6 separate regions of the Homo sapiens genome follow, and all the other regions are linked to region 3. Evidence: promoter capture Hi-C in 16 types of primary human blood cells and fetal thymus (Javierre and others, 2016). All regions are on one chromosome and are shown on one strand. The core of a region is centred on a gene start or on the middle of the fragment in contact, and the rest is flanking DNA. Distances in the headings are between cores, read along the strand shown. Region 1 has its middle 210 kb from the start of USP25. Region 2 has its middle 260 kb from the start of USP25. Region 3 holds the start of HSPA13 (heat shock protein family A (Hsp70) member 13). Region 4 has its middle 230 kb from the start of USP25. Region 5 has its middle 280 kb from the start of USP25. Region 6 overlaps LOC101927745 (a long non-coding RNA gene).

Region 1 (3,534 bases), core at 737-3,236, 1.1 Mb before region 3:
AACATACATTAAACTGACAGTATGTGTAAACTACAAAAGGATCATAATTTTATTCTATCCTCGTTTGTTCATATCCAGAATTATTAATAAGAAAAATCAGGAAGCCTAGTAACTCTCGACACTATAATTCAGCTTATGAGAAATTTCTTTTTTTTTTAATTTACTTAACCAGTTACTTTTTATTGAATATTTTGGGTTTTCAACTTTTCACTCTTACGAACAATGCTAAAAATGAGCTGTCTTGTACGTAAATATTTGGTACCTTTTTCATAATTTCCTCAGGATAGAGTCCTAGAAGTGGAATTTCCAGGACAATAGGGCATGCATATTTGAAGACATCTAAGGCACCAAACTGCTTTTCAGAAAGATGGCACTCATTTATAGTACTATGGGTGGTAATTGAGATGACTGATACCTTGTTATTCCAAAGTTATTGCACTTGAACTTAAAGAACCATGGTTTGGGTTTACAATGAAGGAAGTGAGCAGCGTGCACTGTTCTATTACAGTGTTCTTCTGAAAAGACAGACCTGATAGGCCACTTCCGTGCTGAAAGTCTCCATTGATCTCTGCTGCCTGAGGAACCAAGTTTCTTTATATATATATATATATATATATATATATATTTTATTATACTTTAAGTTCTAGGGTACATGTGCACAACGTGCAGGTTTGTTACATATGTATACAAGTGCCATGTTGGTGTGCTGCACCCATTAACTCGTCGTTTACATTAGGTATATCTCCTAATGCTATCCCTCCCCCCTCCCCCCACCCCACAGAAATATCAATGAAGAGTCAATAGGTAATTCCAGATGCATATTATGTTGAGATGCATTTTTTACTATTTATAGGTCTAGAAGTCACTTGGATTAACGTTATTCTTAAATTTCCAAGATAGCTCCTTCTCAATTCATTCTCTTGGAACATCCTGAGTATATAACTAATATTCTTTAAGTGAAGCTATACAAAAAGATACACAATTTGATAAAGGTTTGTACTTTTTTCATCTTACTGTTAGAGTATTGCTATCCCAGTTTAGAATATGTTAGTTCCAGTGCCCAAGCCCTACCAGATCTGCAAATATTCATTTATAGAGGCATGTTTTTGTGTGACTCTTCTATATGTTAGCTGTGGCTGAAATATCCTTTGACATGATAACCTATGTCAGCTATAGCCACTACCCATGTAACCTCTCTGAAATCTTTCTCTATGGTTTAGTGACTCATGCAGTGTTTACCAAAATAGAGCAGTAGGACATATTAAACTTGGGCACCATACATTTTCACTAGAGAAAGTATTTGAATGCTCTGTAACTTCTGCCTCATAAGGCTACAGAAAGGCCCATCAGCCCACTCCACTCTGCCCCCACTACCATAAAGCTACAGATGTCTCATTATACACTGACCCAACACACTCTCCAAATTTTTTCACATTAATTCTGAATAACCAATTTGTAAATTCATGCAATTTAAGCAGGCAAAATAATTTGTTGATTCATGACCACCTTCTTGGTCCATTGGGCCAAGAATTAGAACAGCCGAATCCCACAGAAAAAAAGGGAATGACTAGTTGGATTATTTTTCTAAATGAGCAGCTACTTATGTAATTAGGTATTGCAGTGAATAGTCAATAAAATCATCTTTTGCATTATCTTATTCTATGAGGGCTGTGGACATTGACTACTAGAAAAGAAAATTATCTTGCATTTTGTTTAGCAAGGTGCGGTCAGTAAAATTTCCTACCACTTTAGTGGAAGTTCATTTGTTTTTCTGTCTAACTAAATAGTCATATTATTTCAGGAAGAAGCTTCTAGAGGCTATCTCCTTAATAGGATTTAAATATTGTTACACAGTATATGAAAGCCTCTCTAGTTTACTCAGTTTGTCACTGAGTGTATTTCTTTTTAATATTTTTATTAAAGTATAGCTTACATTAATTGTAATTGTATAGCTTGATGGAAATTTACGTAGTTTACACTAATGTAACCAACACCTTGATGAAGGTGTATAAATTTCCAGCATACCAGAAGTTATGCATTTTGCAATTTTTCTGAACTTCAGAGAATAATGGGTAATAATGGACTTTGCCCAACTCCTAAGCATTGTGAAGTCAAATAAAGTAAATTAAAATGCCATTGGGAAACTACCCAAAGAGAAAGCTTAGCATCAGTAGTAGTAAAAATTATGTAAGATTTCCCTTAACCTGGAGATCATTCTGTCATACTTTGTCCTTCCTATTGTATATAAACTCACAAAAACTGATGGCTTAGCTCTCAGCAGATTAAATATTTCAAAGTTAGTTTTTCAAAAGCAAATTTGAAAATAATGTTTAAGCAGTCAAAAGTATTTCCATGGCATGGTTCATTAATGTTTCATCTATACTTACTTAAGTGTAAGCAGTTTAAATTATGTAATTACTGCTTCTCCTTTACTCATGCCAAATTATATGTATGTTTGTATCTGTATTAAAAACCATTGCCAAACTATGTAATATGATCAGCATCTACTGGTGACAAACCAAGCAATAGGCTCGTATGGTTTATTCAGCTTAAAAGAAAAATAAAACAAAACAAAGCAAAACAAAGTAATTGTTGATATTTTCTTTAGGCGTTACTAGGATATTACAACAGGATTTTTTGTTTCTGGTTTTATTTTTCCTAAAAGTTAATTGTCAGCATTAACACATTTTTTTAACATTCTCTAAAGAGTACATACATAACCAGAAAAATCAGCAGATTTGAAACAATAGAAAAATGTACAATTTTTTCAATGATTGATGGATTTAGTTGGATTATTGGCATTAATTTTCTTTTTCTTTTTTTATGTCATATGAAGTATTTATTAGGCAGTTATACATATTGTTATGATAGGAGGAGTAATGTACATTGAGTATTATTGGCATTAATTTTCTACTCATATGTATTCAGTCTTTCACATATATAAATATACATGCCTACTATATTTTTTATATTTCTATTATTATGATATATTATTTTAACTCTCTGTAAGGACAAGTATCACTTTGACTGCAACAGAACTTTCACCTCTTTGTTGGGCTTTAGCTAATATTCCTAGGACAGTCACAAATATAGCTCCAGAGAGTTACGGGTAACTCCAAGAGATAAATTGTTGTGTCTGCAGCCCAAGCTAGGAAACAGGTTGCCCATGGTGAGATTTATTGACTTCAACTTTCGTTTTTTAAAGTAACTAAATTAAACTAACATTGACTCTGAGTGTCCTGAGACATTTAAAACAATGTATACGTTTAGGAAAGGATTATTGTTGTGACAATCGTAGTAAATGTGATGGTTTTGGAACTGAATAGTTTCATTGCTCTGGGGCTATCTTTGATAACTCAAGTAAAGAGAATAATATTTGCTGAAAAGTTATAGATAGGAATTTAGTGTCTATGAGAGTTGAGGGAGAGGTAGGAGCCGATTAATAGCATTAGTTTGAGTGGCATAGCCAGGATATTTGAAACATCCTCCTCAGAGTTCTTTTAATACTCTTCAGGCCTGACCTGAACACACAGT
Region 2 (3,622 bases), core at 294-2,793, 1.1 Mb before region 3:
TTGAACATCTACTACATACTAGACTCTACTCTTCATGCTTTATGTGCATTAACTTGTAATCTTTACAGCAACTTAATGAGGTTGTTACTATTATTAGACCAATTTTACAGAGTAGAAAACCAAGGTCACACAGTTGATAACTGACAGAGTCACAATTGCATCCTAGCAGTTGAGCTACTAAGCCCATGGTTTTATTCAGTATGCTATGCTACCTCTCAATTCAGTTAATTAATAGCTCAAAAAGATCTTCTCTCATAATAAATTATTATAATTGTTATTTGAAATTAGTATTGTTAGCTATAACTGGAAAAAAATCTGATTTCTGTTTTCAAAGAATGTTTAGCTAATGGGTTATCTATAGATTGGATCTGTAAAATAATGCAATTTATTTTCTTAAAAGTAGCAACATTTATAAATCCAAATGCTTATTGTCCTTCTCAGAGCGGTTACCTTGGGAGACCTTATATTTATGTCAAAGAAGCTATCATTACTCAAAATATTTTTGCTTTGTCTTTTTAAATTGTCTTGGAAAACTGGGAATCTTAAAAATATTTCTGTTGGTAGTAACATTAAACTTTTATTTTATTTTATTATCATCTTATTTTTTAAATTAATTTATTTATTTTTGAAATGGAATCTCACTCTGTTGCCCAGGCTAGAGTTCAGTGGCATGATCTCCACTCACTGCAACCTCTGCCGCCTGGGTTCAAGCAATTCTCATGCCTCAGCCTCCCAAGTAGCTGGGATTACAGGTGCTCACCACCACGCCCAGCTAATTTTTGTATTTTTAATAGAGAGAGGGTTTCACCTTGTTGGCTAGGCTGGTCTTGAACTCCTGACCTCAAGTGATCCACCCACTTCAGCCTCCCAAAGTGTTGGGATTACAGGCTTGAGCCACTGTGCCCGGCCATATTAAACTTTTAAATGTGGATTTGAATGTTGGAAACAAGTTTTGTAGATAAAAATCCAGTTAACCAAAATTAGATGTAATTCTAAACAAAAATGAGTTCTTGTTGAGACTCAGGATGGCCTTTATTTCAGGTCTACAACATTTAAAATGGTTGGAGAATGGGGCAATGACAGTTTTGGAGTTTACTAAATTGTCTAGCTTACTAAGGTGTCTACAACCTTGAAGCAACAACTTTTGTTAGTGTAAGCTCTGATATGTTTTATTAAAACAGACAATATTAATAGCTCATAGATCTGTGCCTAATATCTTGCTTTAACTCATAAGTGGGTTGGATGTTTCTGAATTAATAACAGAACCATTGTTTGAGTGTTCCATGTTGATCCTAATGGCAATAAAGGTGAATGGTTGATATTTTTTCTCTTTGTATAAAGAAGTGGTTTTTCTGCAATTTTACTTCATTAATGGATATCACATATATTTCTCTGTCAAACCCTGTTATGAAGGAATTCAGTTTGCCTTTCTGGTCGAAAGGAGCAGATTTCTGCCCGTTTTTGAATAGCAGATAAGTAAATGGGAGAGCATGCACTAAGCCTGGTCCTTCATATCACTTGCTACGTGAGTAGAGACTGGGCCATTGAAAATTATGTATACCCTGGGAAAATGTTCCATTAACTCATTATTCTGAACCAAAATAAAATAAAACATTTTTATAATATTTTCAGTGCACAAGTTTTAGCCAAAGAAATCAAAGTTATGATTTAGATGAATTTTAGTGTTTCAGTGTAATTTCTAATAGTCTTATCTAGAAATGTTTGAAGTGGACCAGTGGTTTCCAACCAAGAACAATTTCCTGATCCAGGGACATTTGGGAATTTCTAGAGGCATGTTTTATTGACACAACTGGTGGAATGCTACTGGCACCTAGAGAGTAGAGGCGAGGGATGCTGTGAAACACAATACAATGAGCAGCAAATCCTCCCACAAGAAAGAATTATCAAGCCCCAAATGTCAGTCATGCTGTGACTGAAAAACTTTGGTCTAGAAGAACTACCAATGAAGACAATAATAATAAGTTAAAGCAATAACTTAAAATAAATAGACACAAAGTTAAGGTATGCAGAATATTTAAAATAAATGTTTAGAGCACCAAATGTAATACCACAAATTATTTACCTCTTCAAATCTAAAGATGAATCACTCACTGTAGTGAATGGAATGGTGGTTTCCACATAAGGTATGTCCACCTGGTACCTGGGAATGTGACCTTATTTGGAAAAGGGATCTTTGCAGAGATAATTAAGTCAAGGATCTCAAGATGAGATCATCTGGAATTATCCTAATTGGCCCTAAATTCAATGAAAAATGTCCTGATACATAGAAAGGGAGAAAACACAGGGGAGAGATCATACAAAGACAGAGGCAGAAATTGGAGTTATGTAACTACAAGCCAAGAATCTGAAATAGACAAGGAAGGATTCTCCCCCAGAGTCTTTGAAAAGTGCATGGTCCTGTTGACACCCTGATTTCAGACTCTCGCCTCCACAACTATAAAAGAATGATTTTCTGTAATCTTGAGCCACCAGTTTGTAATTCGTTATGACAGCCCTTGGAAACTAATACGCCTGCTAATTATCCCTGCTCAAAAGAACTCAGGGAAAAAAAAGAAAAAAAAAGTGAGAGAACACTTCAAGGGCATAGGAGGTTTGAAATAGTTGAAAGGATCAGGACGGACCTGTGTGAACCTTTAAGTTTGCCAACAGAATGGGTCAAAAGGTTCTAAGCCAAATCAGTCTCCCAGGGAACCCTCTACTGGACATAATGTTCAGCCAGCTTGAACTGGCTGTGAGGGATGAACTCTGTATAGCTACTTACCCAAAAGCCAAGACCAGAACCAAAATATATCTAAAAGGTCAAGTCCAGAGAGGTAAAGTTTGTTAGGACGTTTATCCCGTTTCATCTTGAATGTGAAGAACATAGTATAGTATGTAGCACACCTAAAGAGAAATAAGCCCTATCACGAGAGAAAACTTTGAGGATAACTCTTTACTTGTTTTTCTCCATTCAGAACATCAGAAACATGAATCTGGTATAGAAGGCTTTCCAAATCCAAGGTTCATTCATTCAGCAAATATTCACTGGGTCTGTTGTTCTAGATATCTGTCCATCGAATCCTGACAGCAGATTCTTCAGCTCCAGTCTTTATGAAGAGGACAAATGGATTTGTTAGTAGTGACTGATTCACAATTTACCATAATTTCTTGGACATGATACAGGCAAATATGGGCATCAGGGTTTGACTTTCCACTTTCTCTGGGGTAAGAAGCGGGTAGCAATCTTTAATCAGCATTTTTGTAGGGAACAGCAACAGCATTTTTTAAAATTATTCTTTGCCTTACAAAGTCTGCCTTGGAATGTGTGTGTGTGTGTGTGTGTGTGTGTGTGTGTGTGTGTTTAAAGACCTTATTGCTAATTAGACTTAGTATTCATATGCATTTATTCCAAAGGCAGTTTTTAATTATTTATAGTTTTACTTGATTTTTATGGAGGATTTGTTTTTCTTAACCATTTCTTAGAGTACTGTGTGAGGCTGTGTGATACTCATTGCTACATATACTTCATTGCATGGCTGTAGGCTCAGCATTCACATCTCTGGAGTAGTGTGGAAAGGGTTCTTTAAATCCCCTTTGGTAGCAAAAGTCACTCCCTGCTCAG
Region 3 (4,099 bases), core at 1,080-3,579:
GATTTAGATAATGAGATGCGAGACTTTTGAACTGATGAAGTATAGATGAACTTTCTGGACTTTGAGTTCATGCTATAATGGGATGGGACTTTGGTGGATGTTGCATTTTGTATGTGGACAGATGTGAATCTGAGGGGCCACAGAACCATTTTAGTAGGCATAATAAAGGCCTCCTCAAACTGTTAGAACTCGTGAATAGTTACCTTACATGGCAAAACGGACTTTGCAGATATGATAAGTTTACAGGGTTTGAAATGGAGATTACGTTGAGTTGTCCAGATAGGTCCAATGTAAACACATGACATCTAAAATTTGGAAGAGCGATGCAAAAAAATGTCCTCTGTAAAGGACCTGACCCGCTGTTGCTGGCTTTGAAGATGGAGAAAGAGGGTCTCTGAGCTAAGATATGTGTATGGCCTCAGAAACTGGAAACAGCTCTCAGGTTACAGCCAGCAAGAAAATGAAGACCTGAACCCTACAACTGCAAGAAAATGAATTCTGCCAATAACTCAAATTAGCAGGAAACTGATTCTCCCCTAGAACATCCAGAAAGGAATGCAGCTTTGCTAATAACTTGCTTTTAGTTAAGTGAGACCCATACCAAATTTCTGATATACCGAACTGTAAAAATAATAGATTTGAGTTGGTTTAAGACACTAAATTTGTGGTAATTTGTTAAGGCAGAAATAGAAAATGAATACAACCTATTTAGTTCAATCTTAATTCTAAAGGCCTTCTACTCTGAGATCACATAATCTTTACCTGCTTCTTGAACAAATCAGGATCTTGTTAGCAAGGAGAAAGGAGTGAGTGGCAGGGAGAATCCCAATGACCAGTGCTTGTCACAGACGGCTAATCTTAATCTGGTTTAAGTCTCTAGTTCTGTCTCTCAGAATTCTACCTCATGCTTTATGATCCACCACTTTCTAATCTATGGAATAGATGATCTCTTGCTTCTGTGCTCTTGGTAATTGAGTTCCGTCTGCCTGGAACACCTCCAGCCCACTGCCCATTACAAGTAATACTTAAGAACTAAGTGCTTGAATTCTTCACTCCTTATAAGAATCTTATTGAACAGCACTCACTATAGACACACACTTTTTATATTTCGCATTATGAAATACTTAAAAATGCGCAAAAGTAGAGAGAACATTACAATGGATCCCTATCAACCAGAATTCAGCTTCCATAATCAAAATTCACATTGATAAGTCAGAAATAACCAGCAATGTATTCCCACAGCAGGCTGACGTGTTGTCAACAGGGATGGTTTGATTTATATCTAAGCTGAGAAAATGGATTCAATTCTCCAGGATCTTAGTTATCGTGAACTCTAACAGCAAAAATGACAAAACCACTCTCAGAGGAGTCATTAAGTGCTACCAGTGACCAAGATGCGAGAAAAATCCTACTTCAGACTAGAACCTGAACAGCATGTCACAAGCGTCCTAAAATGGCTGTCACGTTACAGGACTTGCCCATAAGGTCAATTTTGGCCACTTAAGACTTACTTGAAGAGAGAGCTAAGGGTTTTCTTTTTAATTTCGTTTTTGTTTTTGTTTTTAATGGCCCACGTCAGTGCTAGCAATAGAGAAAATGTGTCCCTGATCCCTTGGATAAATCGAATTGACTGAAGAATGCTTGAATTCATTTATCCCAAAACAAAGGCAGACGGCTGAGGGTCACTGGAGTTTCAGGGCTGCTCCCAGCGTTGGAGCACGGACGCCAGAGCCGACTTCCCTCAGGCCCCGCACTGCGGCAGGGACCCTTCTACGGAGGATGGCTGGGGCTCCGGGAGGCTATAGGAACGCCATCTAGAAGCTAGATCTCAGGCAAACGAACGCGCTTTAAAAGGAATTAAAACGAAAGAACACAAACTCGAATCCTGGACCTGATTAGGGGCACGACCAAAGAAAGAAATAACTAACGGTTCTCACCCTCCCTTTCATTCCCTCCCGCGGAAAGAGAAAGGCTGGAACTCCGCTTCCCAGAATGCAAAGCGCGGGGCGGGGCTAAAGAGATAGCCTGTTTTCCCTCAAGTAGGATCGCGGGACCACAGGTTTGATTATAAACGCCAGTCTCTCGCCACGGCGCTCCTCCCCCTCAGTCTCACTGGTCCTGCCGGCCGTTGCGTGGAAGGGGGACTCAGTCGTCACTGGCAGCGGTTGAATGGAGGCTCTTTGCCCCGCGCCCTCACGGTAGATGAAGTCCTTGCTTTGGTCAGAGCGATAGCTTCTCCGATTGCCTCAGAGCAAGCGGACTACATTTCCCAGGGGGCTGCGGGACTGCCGGGAGGAGTGGGGGCGGTGCCTCACGTCTGGTACAGTCATCACAAGCCTGTTCGGCGGGACTGTGATGGCCAGAGAGATGACGATCTTAGGTGGGTTCCCGGGGGTCCTTGTTGCTCTTGCGGGCGTAGAGGCGATCTGAGGATGCCAGAGTGGGCAGGGGTGGTTGACTCACCTCCTGGATCTAGCTGGAGCAGCGGAAGGGGAGTCAGAAAGGTGACTTAGAGACGGTTTTCGGCTGTTCGGAGTGGATGGGGGCGGGGACGCCTCTAGGAGGGCCCCGGCCCCTGCAGGCCAAGGTAGGATAGACGGCGACCAGCTGTGTCCATCCCAGGGACATCAGGCTTAGGGAGGCGTTCCTTTCAACAGCACCTAGGTTTTTGAATTGCCTGTTGAATTGGGGCAAGCTATGGAAGGCTGCGAGAACGTGCACCTCCAGGACCCCTTTGTGGAGGAAGGGGGAGGAGCTACATCCGGATCTGTCGGCTCAGGGATGCTGAATTTGGAGGCTTTTTCCATCACATCGGGTTTGGAATTACCTATCCCCCACCCACACACACACCCACCCCGCGTCTCCAAGGTGATGAAATGCTTCTGAAATGTTGCCTGTAGCTGGAAGTGGAAAGTGGGATTCGCACTTGGTTTTATTTCTTTGAGTTATGTGTTGATGAGGATGAGCTAACAATTAGTAACACAGAGCCCTGAAAATTCATGTTTTGGGTCATATGTAATATGAGCGGACACAGGTGTATAACACAGCCTCCTGATACCAAATACGAGATTCATTAAAAACTAAAGGGGCATCTTTCTTCGCTTATGTTTACAATCTGCGTGGCATTTGTTCCTACTCTTTTTTCTTTTTTTTTTAAATTAGTATTTGTTGGGCATCTGCTATTCCTGGTCTGGGGGATACAACAGTGAACGAAACTTGTCTTCAAGAAGCTTTCATAGATGTTGCCGTCAGGGTTGCCCACCTTTATGCTTCTTCTCCCCTAAATATTACCACTGCAAGAAGGAAGTCCCTAGTTCATACTTAAATACATAAAAAGTTAACTGTGTTCTGTTTTGAAGTGACAGTTTCATATCTAAGGAACTTTCAAAATCATTTTATCCCATTTATTCATTTCATCCTTTTGAAAGGGAAAAGGAGGTGAGATACGAGGAGAGAATTTTAGACTTATAAAATAATAAAGTTTTTCTTGTGAGAATTTTAATAATGGAGCTTTTAAAAAAAGATAATCGAAGCTTTTTATAAAGCTGTAAAATCTAAATATCAATTGATCAAGAATATTAGATTATATCTGGCTTTTGCTCCAGATAAATGTTGTTTCTTGTCAGCATCTGCACAAATATTATTGAAATATTTTTACATTTTATTACATTTATTAGAGAATGACACAAACATACAGTTATAGGGTTTTTTGTTGTTTGTGTTTACTTCATTTTAAATTTTATTATAACCAGTTTACATTTTGAAAAACTTGCTGTCTGAGAGGAGTGCTATCAGCAGTCCTATAAAAAATTTTGAAATTTGTCTTTTTTAGCCTTGTTTCAACGAGTGATATTAAAGGGACTTTGCTACAGTAATTTAGTACATTGTACTAGTTTGATAAAATACATCTTTTAATTTTCCTTTATTTCAGGATCGGCTGTTTTGACTCTCCTGTTGGCCGGCTATTTGGCACAACAGTATTTACCATTGCCTACTCCTAAAGTGATTGGTATTGATCTTGGCACCACCTATTGTTCTGTTGGGGTGTTTTTTCCTGGCACAGGAAAAGTAAAGGTGATTCCAGATGAAAATGGGCATA
Region 4 (3,920 bases), core at 988-3,487, 1.1 Mb before region 3:
CAGCAATGCCTAATATTACAGAGAAGTTGAGAAACACGTGAACTGAGCCTGGAAGTAGCCAGAAATATTTCCAAGAATAGTCCATTACATTTGACCCTATTAAGAGTTATTTCAATAGAAATAGGGACTGAAAGCTGATGGCTGATAAGGACTGGAATGTAGACTGCTCTTTCCATAATCTTGTCTATGAAGGAAAGAAATTGAGCTGAAATGGGGATCTAGAAGTACTAATAGGCTGACCTTAGGTTGCAGATAAAAGGAGTTGTGAGAATGAGCAACCTTGTTTGATGAGGACAAAATAGGAAGTCTCATCTCTTAAGGAGGAATCACGTTAAAGAGGTGACTATATAGAGGGAGAGCTGGGTGAAGTGCTTGAATGAACAGAGGAATTTATTTACAGGGAAATAAGGTTTCCAGAGAGTCGCTATGGAAAGAATTTAATGTAATTATCCAGCCATATATGATAACCAACTCTGTGCCCGGAGCTATGGGGTAATGGGGAAAGAAGACATTATTCTTGCCTCCAAGGAGCTAATGGTCCAATAGAGATGCTTATCTCATTAAGAAACATTTAGTAAGAACATACTGTGTGCTGGAAGATACTGTTCTAGGCACTGAGGATACAGCTGTGGTTACAGAACTATCTAGGCCCTTAGAGGGATTTGATTCTAGTGGCAGCAGACATGCAAAGAAATTCTTTAACCATTTATATCATAGCTGCTACCTCTCACAAATTGGCAATCGTCTCCATTTTTACACCCTATATGGAATGCAAAAATAGAGGGGATTGTCAGTTCTATGAGGTGCTGCAGCTAGGGGGAGGCAGGTGATGGTTCTTCTTTGCAGAGGTGATTGTGATGAGTCTTGAAAGGACAGTGGGTTTTCACCAGGTGGAGCATGTAGTCAGGGCAGGCAGATGGAACAATGAGAGCAAAAGCCAGGAGGTTGGCCGGGAAATTGAGTAGGAATGGAAGGATGAGTCATAGGAGAGGAAACTGAGTAGCATGAGGATGAGGATGTAAGAGACCAGATGACGATGGCAGTGTGCATTTTGGGTGGAGGCCAATGATGGCAGGAATGAAAAGTTCTGTAGGATTAAGTGGCTCCAAAGTTCTGAAAGACTCTGCTTAGAGTGGTGCTCACTCTGGCCAAAGAAAATCACTGATGAACGCTACAGTCTACAGCCCAGCCCAGTCAGCAGGCTTGGTCAGGCTTCCAGAATAAATGCCTGGGCAAAGTAGTCTGTGGCTCTGTTGGGCTAGGCCCAGCATGACTGGAAGGACAGAGGTGAAGTGGGATCACAGGCCCGATGGAAGCCAATGGGAAGTGAAAGTTCCACTGAGTCTCATGGATACACAGCTATGAGGAGGCATCTAGAGAGACATTCCCATAAGGACTCTGGCAGGCCACATCATCGCGAGCCAGGGATCCTCACTTCCCTGTGGAGTCCAGTTCTCATCCAAAATAAAAAAGGTCAGAATCAATGAAGCTTTAGGTCCTTTTTAGCTCTGAAATTCTAAGAATCTACTTGTGAGCATGATTTATTGAGACAAAGAAATGTGCTTTCCTTGTTTTTATTTTTCTAATTTTACTTTGGTACAACCCCTTTCTCAAAAAAAAAAAAACAACAAAAAAACGACTTTTTAGTAAAGTGCTCACCACATAATAGAAGTACAATTAATAAGTAATTAATTGATTCATTTCATCATGACAGGAAATTTTTATTCTTCACATTAAAAGTTAACCAGTCATTATAAGTTCCATGTGCAAATATTATGAATTGTATTTTCATTATAGCTTTTCTGCTTACATTTTACTTTAGTTGACTGACTACAAGTGCTTCCAAGTTTTTCTCTTTGAGATTTTCAGCTGGCAAATCAGCATGCAAATTAACCTGCATCCAAAAATCTGGGTCCCAAAAGTGGGAGGGTTGGGGATGAATAAATATCATTTTTATAGAGATTTTCAAATTTAAGAATATTCACTGCCATAAGTTATATCATTATTTTGTTCAAATAAATATTGGAGCATAAATCAAAAACTTGAAAGATGATAAAATGGCAGGCAAACTGGATTGTTTACATTGATCTACAGGTGTGTTCCAAATCTTTGAAATTTGGGAAGAATCTCTCTCAAGTTATTTTCATATCAGTAACTATTTAGGCGATTTTCCACTTCTATATTTCTAGCATTCTTTTGACTCAATGTAATTTTCCTTTTATTAATTTTACCCTCCTTCACACTGAGAGTCGGCTGTGATTTTGTCCATATACTCTTCACTCCTTTGTAGGTAATACACCTAGTGACCAAAAATGAACTCGAATCCTGACTCATGGGGCATCTCTGGACACTGTCTTCTGGTGGAAAACTCATCCACTGGCCCTTGATTGCACTGGCATTTGTCATTATCCTTGTTTACAGTCTTTGAGCCTGTTTTCAATCCATGCAACAGCATTTCTGTCCAAATCCATTTGTACGACTTTTTCAGTTTGGATTTCACAAGGCATTGGTATTACGGAAGGTCCGGGTATATGACATTTACACATTCCCTTCCTCCAGTCATTTTGTAATTAGATTCTTTTAAAAGTAGGGGTGGCATGAGTGAGGGAATATCAAGTTCCACCGGCGCAACCTGCCTGTGCTGTCGCACCACCTGGAGAAAACTCCCCTGTGGAAGTATCGACGCCGGCACAAGTTGAATACCCACGGTAAGCTGGAGGGGTTTTTAATGGAACTGAAATACCAGCTGCTCCTCACATTCCTCATGCCATATTGTCCAATGAAGCAGCCCCTTTTTCATCAGCTCTAGCCAGGAATCGTTGAGTCATTTTTGATCCACTTTTATCGTTTGATCAACGTTTGATCTATGGGATGAAGTCAAATTGTGAGTCCATCAGCTTCCCTCACTTGTGCTGTTTCCCTCTCTCTTTTATGCACTCAGTTATTAACACTCACTTCTAACCAGCTGTACCTCTGTAAAGCTTTATTCTTTGGCTTAAGGTAGTCACTTAGCTGTTGCAGGCTGTTTTAGTCAGCTGGTCAAGTTGACCCTGGTACCATGGGCACAGTCCGTCTTATTACTCAGGCACTTCATGTTCTTAAATGAAGTCGCCCTAAAACGTTCGCTTATATTGTCTCTCATCTTCAGTGGGCTGAGAGCAAGCACAGCTATCTGGATTTCATTGCATTTTTTTTTCTTTTTTAAGTCTGGAGACATTTAATCCCCAATAAAAGTCAGCAGAGCTTGTGTGGTTGAGGTAAAATGGTGAGCAGGGGAAGAGGCGGTGAAGTCCTTGCCTGTGCTGTCTAGGAGCATTCTTATCTTAATACTTCTGTAGAGTCTCGTGCTATTTTCAAACAAAGACAATTTTAGCGTAGTTCCCTAAATTTTGCCCCCACCCCTTTTTTGGCAAATCACCCTGATGCAAAACTTTCAAAAGGCTAAAAAAAAAAATACTGACAACAAATTATTTTAAGTGGTATGTTCAACTGCTGTATATACAAGAATGTGTCTCTAGTCTCTCCTTCTCCAATGAAATTAGCCAATAGTTTTAATTTTTCCTCATTTTCTAAAGTGTCTTACTCTTCTCTGACTGTTTGAACTTTGCACTGTGCAGCTTTCTCAAATCTCTGCACCAAAAATGAATTTTATAATACTTGACCTTTTAATCTAGCAAATCAGACCCTTTTGTAATTAAATTAAACTTTTCATAGGATGAACCGAACTATCAAATGTCATCTTATCTTTAGCAGCAGAAGCTGGTGCAGAAACATCAGACACTGTAGACAATAAAGAATCAAAACAAATCATTAACACCAGTCTAAATGCCTTTAGACTGTTTTACAATGTCTTCATGCTTATCTGTTGAAAATAAGCTGTCAAAAACTATGTTGCTGTCTGTTCAAAGAATACAAAGTAA
Region 5 (3,931 bases), core at 1,387-3,886, 1.1 Mb before region 3:
CTGTTGATGGGAATGTAAATTAGCTCAACCATTGTGGAAGACAGTGTGGTGATTCCTCAAGAATCTAGAACCAGAAATATTATTTGACCCAACAATCCCATTACTGGGTATATACCCAAAGGAATATAAATCATTCTATTATAAAGACGCATGTATGCTTATGTTCATTGCAGCACTATTCACAATAGCAAAGACATGGAATCAACCCAAATGTATGTCAATGATAGACTGGATAAAGAAAATGTTGTACATATACACCATGGAATACTATGCAGCCATAAAAAGGAGGGAGACCATGTCCTTTGCAGGGACATAGATGGAGCTGGAAGCCATTATCTTCAGCAAGCTAATGCAGGAACAGAAAACCAAGCACCGAAGCACCACATGTTCTCATTTATAAGTGGGAGCTGAACAATGAGAACACATGGACATATAGAGAACAACATACACTGGGGCCTGTTGAGGAGGGATGGGGGAGGGAGAGCATCAGGAAAAATATCTAATACATGCTGGGCTTAATATCTGGGTGATGGGTTGATAGGTGGAGCAAACCACCATGGCACACATTTACCTATGTAACAAACCTGCAGGTCCTGCACATGAATCCCAGAACTTAAAATAAATAAAAAAACAAGCAAACAACTTAAATGGATATTTCTCCAGAGAAGTTATCCAGATGGCCAATAAGCACGTGGAAAGTTTCTCAACATCATTATTTATGAGGGAAATGCAAATCAAAACCACAATGAGATACCACTTCACATCTGCTAGAATGGCTATACATAAACAAAATAAAATGGAAAATAACCTCTGTTGACAAGGATGTGGAGAGATTGGAACCCTCATACATTGCTGATGGGTATGTAAAATGGTACAATCCACAGTGGAAAACAGTTTTGGGGTTCCTTAAAAAGTTAAACATAGATTTACTACATGATCACAGTTCCATTCTTAGGTGTATACCTAAAAGTACTGAAAACAGATATTCAAACAAAGACTTGAACATGAATGTTCACAGCATCACTATTCACAGTAGTGAAAAGATATAAAAAACCCAAATGTCAATCAATGGAATGGCCAAGCAAAATGTAATATGTGTGTACAGTGGAATTTAGCCATGCAAGGGAATAAAATACTGATAATGCTACAACATGGATGAACCTGGGAAGTATATTAAATAAGAGAAGCTAGAAATCAGACATCACATTTTATGTGATTCCATTTGTATAACATATATAGAACAGGTATGTCTATAAAGAGAGAAAGAGCACATCTGTGTTTGCCAGGGTATAGGTAGTTGGGTAATGGGAAGTAACTGTTTAGTGTGTGTATTAGTCCATTCTCAAGCTGCTAATAAAGACATACCCAAGACTGGGTTATTTATAAAGGAAAGATGTTTAATTGGCTCAGTTCTTTACAGTTGGCTAGGCCTCAGGAAACTTACAATCATGGCAGAAGGGGAAGCAAACATGTCCTTCTTCACATGGTAGCAGCAAGGAGAAGTACCAAGCAAAAGTGGGGAAAGCCCCTTATAAAACCATCAGATCTTCTCAGAACTCACTCACTATGACAAGAACAGCATGAGGGTAACTTCTCCCCTGATTAATTTACCTTCCACCAGGTGGCTTCCATGACACATGGGGATTATGGGAATGACAATTCAAGATGAGATTTGGGTGGGGACACAGCCAAACCATATCAGTGGGTTTGGGATTTCCTTTTGGGGTGATGAAAATATTTTTAAACTAGATAGAGGTGATGGTTCCACAACATTGTGAAGGTAATAAATGCTACTGAATGTACAGTTTAAAATGGCTAGTTTTATGTTATGTAAATTTTACCTCATTTTTAAAAACAAAAAAATACACCCACTGGAAATGTATCAGTATAAACGGGGCCTAATGTGGGATTGTGCTCCAAATTCATATCACCCCCTGACTGGTAGTGCTAGTTGATGAATGCCATAAGAAAATACACATATTTTTGGAGGAATACACTCTCAATCTAAGACTCAGAATAGCCTCACAGAAAAAGTTTCATCAAGCCTAAACTCACAACAACAACAAAAATAACAAAACACAATGGAAAATAACATATTGAGACCAAGAAAGAGGATAAACAACAAAGAATACAAAGAAAAGAATCAGATGCATTAAGATCTCAGATATGGAAATTACTGCATTTAGAATATAAAAAGTAAGAATACTGTTTTTTCTTTTAAAATTTAAAAATTTTAAAATCTGTACTAAATTTTTAAATCTCTACTTTTTTTCTTTTAAAATTTAAAAATTTTTAAGTCTCTACTAAAATTTTTAAATTTTAAAAGAAAAAAAGAAAGGCATCAAATGTGTGAGGAAGGCATAAGACTGTGGAGACTGATCATGCAGAATTGCTAAAAAATTTTAAAAACAGAACTTACAGTAGTAAAAAATATAATTATTGAGATTAAAAACTCAATGGTAGAGTATCAGATACAGCTGAGGAGAGAATTTACAACTGGAAAATACAGCAGAAGAAATGACTCAATATAACATGGGTAAATATTTGGAAAACATGAAATAGAGGTTAAGGGACATTACAGTAAAGTTAGAAGGTCTGGCTTATTGCTTAGAATTTCACAAGAGAATATAGAGAATGGAGAAAAGTCAGTATAGGAAAAAAAATGGCTAAAGGCTTCCCAATATTGGTGGCAGACTAGATTACATCAGAAGACCTCAGTGAAATATAAGTAGGTAGCAACAAAAAAAACACACACCTGAACACACCTTAGTGAAATTTCAGCTCACCAAAAACAAAGCAAATATGAAATAACTACAAAGGAATGAAAGCAGCTACAATGGAAGCCAGAAGATGATGAAAAATGTCTTCAAAGAGTCAAGAGAAAATGACTATCAAATAATTATATACTAGGTGAAACTACTTGAAATAAAGCCATCATCAGATAAACAAAAGCTAAGTTTTTAGGAGCAAATCTTCACTAAAGGCTATTGTAAAGACTGTACTTCATTAAAAAAAGAAAATATACAAGAAGAAATGTGATGCTTTTAAAAAGCCCAATAATAATGCTGGGCAGGGTGGCTCACCCTGTAATCCCAGCACTTTAGGAGGCTGAGACGGGCAGATGACCTGAGATTGGGAGTTCAAGACCAGCCTGACTAACATGGAGAAACCACATCTCTACTAAAAATACAAAATTAGCAAGGCATGGTGGTTCATGCCCATAATCCCAGCTAGTTGGGAGGCTGAGGCAGGAGAGTCGCTTGAACCCGGGAGGCAGAGGTTGCAGTGAGCCGAGATTGTGCCATTGCACTCCAGCCTGGGCAACAAGAGCAAAAATCCATCTCAAAAAAAAAAAAAAAAAAAAAAAGCCCAATAATGAAGAAAATACTGTACTTATTTAATTTAGAAAACTGAAGTTTGGAGTGTTTCCCCAAATCTACAAATAGCAATTTAGAGTTGGTGTTAATATCCTGTTCTATATGACTCAAAGCATGTATTCTCCTATAATATATATATAAAATACTTGACCCGGCTGCATAGGTTTGCTTGGGCTGCCATAACAAAATATGATAGACTGGGTGACTTAAACAACAAATCTTTATTTTTTCATGATGCTGGAGGCTGGGAAGTCCGAGATCAAGGTGCTGGCTGATTCCGTTTTTTGTGAGGGCTCTCTTCCTGGCCTGCTGATGGCCCCCTTCTTGCTGCGTTTTATACTGGGGATTGGAGTTTCAACATATGAATTTAGGGAGGACATATTTCAATCCATAGCATCATCCTTCCACATTTTTTAAATTCCTGAAAGTTAGTTATAAACCCGATGATTGAATTCACTCTAATTCTCTCATATTTAAATGGGAAATTTTGTGCAAATTATTCCTTAGTCTCCATACCAAATTCCTTGGCAACCCATGTTTTCCCTGCTGTGTAT
Region 6 (3,746 bases), core at 976-3,475, 1.0 Mb before region 3:
GGCACTATTTTATACTTTAAAAACAAATACCCTGTCTGTGCTGGCAAAGCCCCTCCAGTTCTCTGTATGCTTGCATGAGAAGAGGCAAAAGGGAAGAGCTCAGAGGAGGAGACTGTGTTCCGTCCTCACCAGTTGGAGGGCTCTGCCTGGGCCACCTCACTTCTTGGAACCTTGGTCTCCTCATCTGTAAAGTGAGGAGATTGCTGATATGGTTTGGATGTTTGTCCCCTCCGAATCTCATGTGGAAACGTGATCCCCAGTGTTAGAGGCGGGGCCTAGTGGAAGGTATTTGGATCATGGGGGTGGATCCCTCATGAATGGCCTGGTGACCTCCCCACGGCAATGAGTGAGTTCTCACTCTATTAGTTTACTCAAGAGCTGATTGTTTAAAGCAGCCTGGCACCTCCTCCTCTCTCTTGCTCCCTCTCTTGCTGGATGACACACCTGCTCCCTCTTCATCTTCTGCCATAAGTAAAAGCTTCCTGGGGCTTCACCAGAAGCCAAGCTAATGCTGGTGCCATGCATATATCGCCTGCAGAACCATGAGCTAAATAAACCCCTTTTCTTCTTAAACTAACCAGTCTCAGCTATTCCTTTATAGCAACACAAAACACATTACACTAATGTAATGGCCCCACACTAAGGAGTGGCATTGGTTGATGCCCCCACACACCCAAATGCACCATGCTCTTTGGCTGCTGTACCTAATGCCTTCTTGTTCCTTTTAAAACTTTCTCATGGGAAAGAAAGGAAGCTGTTTCACCAAGAAATTGATAGTGGGTACCAGCTTAAAGGGTTACTTCTCAGAAATGTTTGCATTAAAATTAATATCTGGAAGGTGATATTTTAGTAGCCATCATCAATATGTGTATGGTAAGGAAGAACATTTTTGTGGAGTAACATGGGAAGTGTGTTGGTCACCTAGATGTCCCACCCAGATCCTCCTGTAGGGAGAGATGTGGTGCCCAGCTTCAGGGCATGTGGTCAGCAGACAGCCTCCAACCAGTGCCCCCTTGAGGTTGACCTCAGCTACAGAGTGCAGCCTACCTCTCCTGAGGTCCCACCCACTCCAGGGCACCTGCATCCAGCGATAAGCAAAGGTGTGTGTGAGGGAAAAAGAAGACCCTGCTACATGGGGAAACCTGACAGGTAATTCCCTCTTCAGAGCTCCCTTTTGGGATATCTAGGGCTTTGGTTCACCTTTAATATTGCAGGTCAGTTTCTCTCCTACCTACCAGCAATGGATGCCCAGGTGGGACTGGGGGAAGGGGGAAGTGGGAAGAGGTGCTGTAGAGAAAGACAAGACATCTCATTGTCTGTTTTCAAAAGCTTCATTTAATGCAGAAGAATGGGGAAACACATGTACAAAGGACCATAGTAAGAAACAGAAAAAGCAGGAAAACAAGGAATCATGGATGTTTTCTCAGGAAAGTACCTAATTGTGGAGGTCCCAAGAGACAATGATGTCGTAATGGCTGAGATTCTTCCTGGAGGACTTTGGGAAGTGTGAAGCTCAGAATAGTATCTGGCTCACTTCCTGTCCTCCCGTTTCTGTTTAGGACTCTCCTGAGGAAGGTGCTCAGTTCCACTGAGTGAAATAATAGTACATTTATGGCCACAGTCTTGACTTCAAAATGACTCCCAGATTTCAGTTTTTCTGCAGATCCTTTCAGGAAACTGCAAGCTATGCTTGGCTTTCTGTCGCCATACACACATCTATCACACCAAAAACATGTAACTTATGTCAGGACAAGTTTAATAACAGGATAATTTGATTTCTTAGGTTTTTAACAGAGGACATCATGCTATCTGTTCTTGTTTAAGAGCCACAGAACATGAAATGGTATAGTAAAAGGAGTGGTTGATGTCAGTGGCTAAGCCCTGGATGGCCCACAGAAAGGTCAGATCTTGGTGTCAAAAGTCACAGAGATGCCACATGGCCTCTCAATGAATGCAGGGTGAAGTATTACCCCTAAGAAATACTGGCCATCAGAACAAAGGGAGTTTACTATTGTGCAAATTATTACTGTTTAAGGGATGACTCAATTTTGGTGATTATACTAGTATCATCCAAAAATGGAGCTTTTGAGTTTGCTCCAGATTTTGAAAAATTGATTCTTACTGAAGAGGACTAAAATCTCTATGTCAGCGTTCAGTGTCTTAACACATTATCTTCTTATCTACAGGCAGCTTAAACCAGTATCTTAAGTGAACGGCTGGAAGCCAGGAATTTTGAGACTGGGTACAGCCTAGTAGAAAAAGCATGGGTAATGGGGCACTATTTAAAATCTCTTTTTGAAAGATTTGAAAATCTTGAATTTGAAAATCTTGAATCTCTCTTTGCCAGCTAACCAGCTGTGAACATGGAGCCACTTCTAAGATCCTTCTGAGCCCCAGTTTCTGAATCTGCAAAAGAGGGACAATCCTTCTTGCCTTGCAGAATTATTGTGAAGTTTACATTAGATCCTGTATGCTATGCACAGGATGTATGAGGCTTACAAAAAGCCTTTTCTTATAGCTTCTTGGTGAGGTAGAATGAGTTCATATTGCACAAGAGTTCATTTTCTGAATCTAACTTACCCATCGTATGAGAAATTAATAATTAAATGGTTGTGACATTTTTATCATTATGACATAGCAGAAGAATACTTAACAATTGAAGTAACATGGCATTCATCATCAATCTCATTTTGAGAGGGTCGACTCACAAATAGAACTTCTTTTCTTGCTTATGATATTCATACAGCTATATTCATATCTTTAAAAATTATGACATATCTTTTATATTTTTATATATTTCATGCTTTATATTTTCAAATATAAGTACAGTTAATATACAATCTTCTTTTGCCTTTGAATTTCACTTTCAGAGACATGTTTCTATTTCCCAATATTTGCCTCTTATCTATAATAAAAGTCACCATCCTCTTCAAAGTGTGTTGTGTCAATGTGCAACCTCAGTATACTTAATTCTCTGACACACACCCTCTGAGAAGAGTGGTGAGAGTTGCAAGGTGAAGCTCTCTTCTTTGGGGCACTCATTCAGAATATACGTAGACCAAAAGACAATTCTTGTCTCACTTTCATTATGATTTCCCAATGAGCCTCCTGAAAAGCTTCTACCGTTAAATTGATTATGCGTAAAATATAATTTATGAACTTGAATAATCACATTTTTAATTTTTTGCAGCTGAAATGATATGTGATGTACAGTTTAAAGGGTTATCATCTCCTTTCAGAAATAATCACCTGGTTATAAACCCATTACCAAGATAGTAAATAAGACCAAAATCTTCACTGGCTTTGAAGATAGACTTGGTTTGAAATATTCACCCCACAATAAATTGCTTGTATAAATTTGGGAAAATTTTTTGCCATTTTTGAGCCTCAGCTTCCTCATCTGTTAAGATTGGGTTAGTAATGATACTACTTCAAGATGACATTATGAGATGGTGAGAGAAAGCACATAGGGCTTTCTAGAAAAATTCTGTCTCATCTGAAACTTGAAAGAGGTATAGTGTTAGCCAAGCCAAGAAGGTGGGAAAACTGGCCTTAAAAGAAATGATCAACTCTGCACAGAATATTCTTTATGGTTTTATCATACCAGTGATGGCATCTCTTGTCATATACATGCATTTAGGTCATAAACTACATTTTATTTAGCATTGAACATCTCCAGCATCCCCCTGCCTTTATAGGAATAAGCAACAAAAGATAAACTGAACTACATTGAAAGTAAAAGCTTT

What was found. Contacts are between HindIII fragments. The CHiCAGO score rates a contact against its expected background, and 5 or more counts as called.
Region 1: a contact is called between a fragment that was not itself captured here and the fragment with the promoter of HSPA13 in region 3, in 9 of 17 cell types (naive CD4 T cells, total CD8 T cells, fetal thymus and 6 more). The highest score is 13.5, in naive CD4 T cells.
Region 2: a contact is called between a fragment that was not itself captured here and the fragment with the promoter of HSPA13 in region 3, in 4 of 17 cell types (total CD8 T cells, naive B cells, activated CD4 T cells and 1 more). The highest score is 5.5, in total CD8 T cells.
Region 4: a contact is called between a fragment that was not itself captured here and the fragment with the promoter of HSPA13 in region 3, in 8 of 17 cell types (total B cells, activated CD4 T cells, non-activated CD4 T cells and 5 more). The highest score is 7.3, in total B cells.
Region 5: a fragment that was not itself captured here is called in contact with the fragment with the promoter of HSPA13 in region 3 in 1 of 17 cell types (monocytes); the score reaches 5.0 in monocytes.
Region 6: a contact is called between a fragment that was not itself captured here and the fragment with the promoter of HSPA13 in region 3, in 1 of 17 cell types (M1 macrophages). The highest score is 6.5, in M1 macrophages.

The regions. Positions count from the first base shown.
Region 1 is chr21:15,515,261-15,518,794 of GRCh38, reverse strand. No RefSeq gene overlaps it. Among named protein-coding and RNA genes, the nearest start is that of USP25, 210 kb to the left of the region's middle. The HindIII fragment of the contact is 352 bases long and covers 1,811-2,162 here.
Region 2 is chr21:15,471,385-15,475,006 of GRCh38, reverse strand. No RefSeq gene overlaps it. Among named protein-coding and RNA genes, the nearest start is that of USP25, 260 kb to the left of the region's middle. The HindIII fragment of the contact is 7,421 bases long and covers 1-3,622 here.
Region 3 is chr21:14,381,376-14,385,474 of GRCh38, reverse strand. It overlaps HSPA13 (heat shock protein family A (Hsp70) member 13), which reads left to right and starts at 2,329. Exons shown (of 5, transcript NM_006948.5): 1 at 2,329-2,380; 2 at 3,932-4,099. The coding sequence starts at 2,356. LOC105369304 (a long non-coding RNA gene) reads right to left here and starts at 2,709. Exons shown (of 2, transcript XR_007067924.1): 1 at 1-2,709. RefSeq lists enhancers at 1,793-1,922, 2,313-2,622. The HindIII fragment of the contact is 7,322 bases long and covers 1-3,232 here.
Region 4 is chr21:15,493,269-15,497,188 of GRCh38, reverse strand. No RefSeq gene overlaps it. Among named protein-coding and RNA genes, the nearest start is that of USP25, 230 kb to the left of the region's middle. The HindIII fragment of the contact is 1,492 bases long and covers 1,492-2,983 here.
Region 5 is chr21:15,446,531-15,450,461 of GRCh38, reverse strand. No RefSeq gene overlaps it. Among named protein-coding and RNA genes, the nearest start is that of USP25, 280 kb to the left of the region's middle. The HindIII fragment of the contact is 7,816 bases long and covers 1-3,931 here.
Region 6 is chr21:15,428,535-15,432,280 of GRCh38, reverse strand. The region is part of intron 2 of LOC101927745 (a long non-coding RNA gene); the gene reads left to right. Among named protein-coding and RNA genes, the nearest start is that of USP25, 300 kb to the left of the region's middle. The HindIII fragment of the contact is 1,787 bases long and covers 1,332-3,118 here.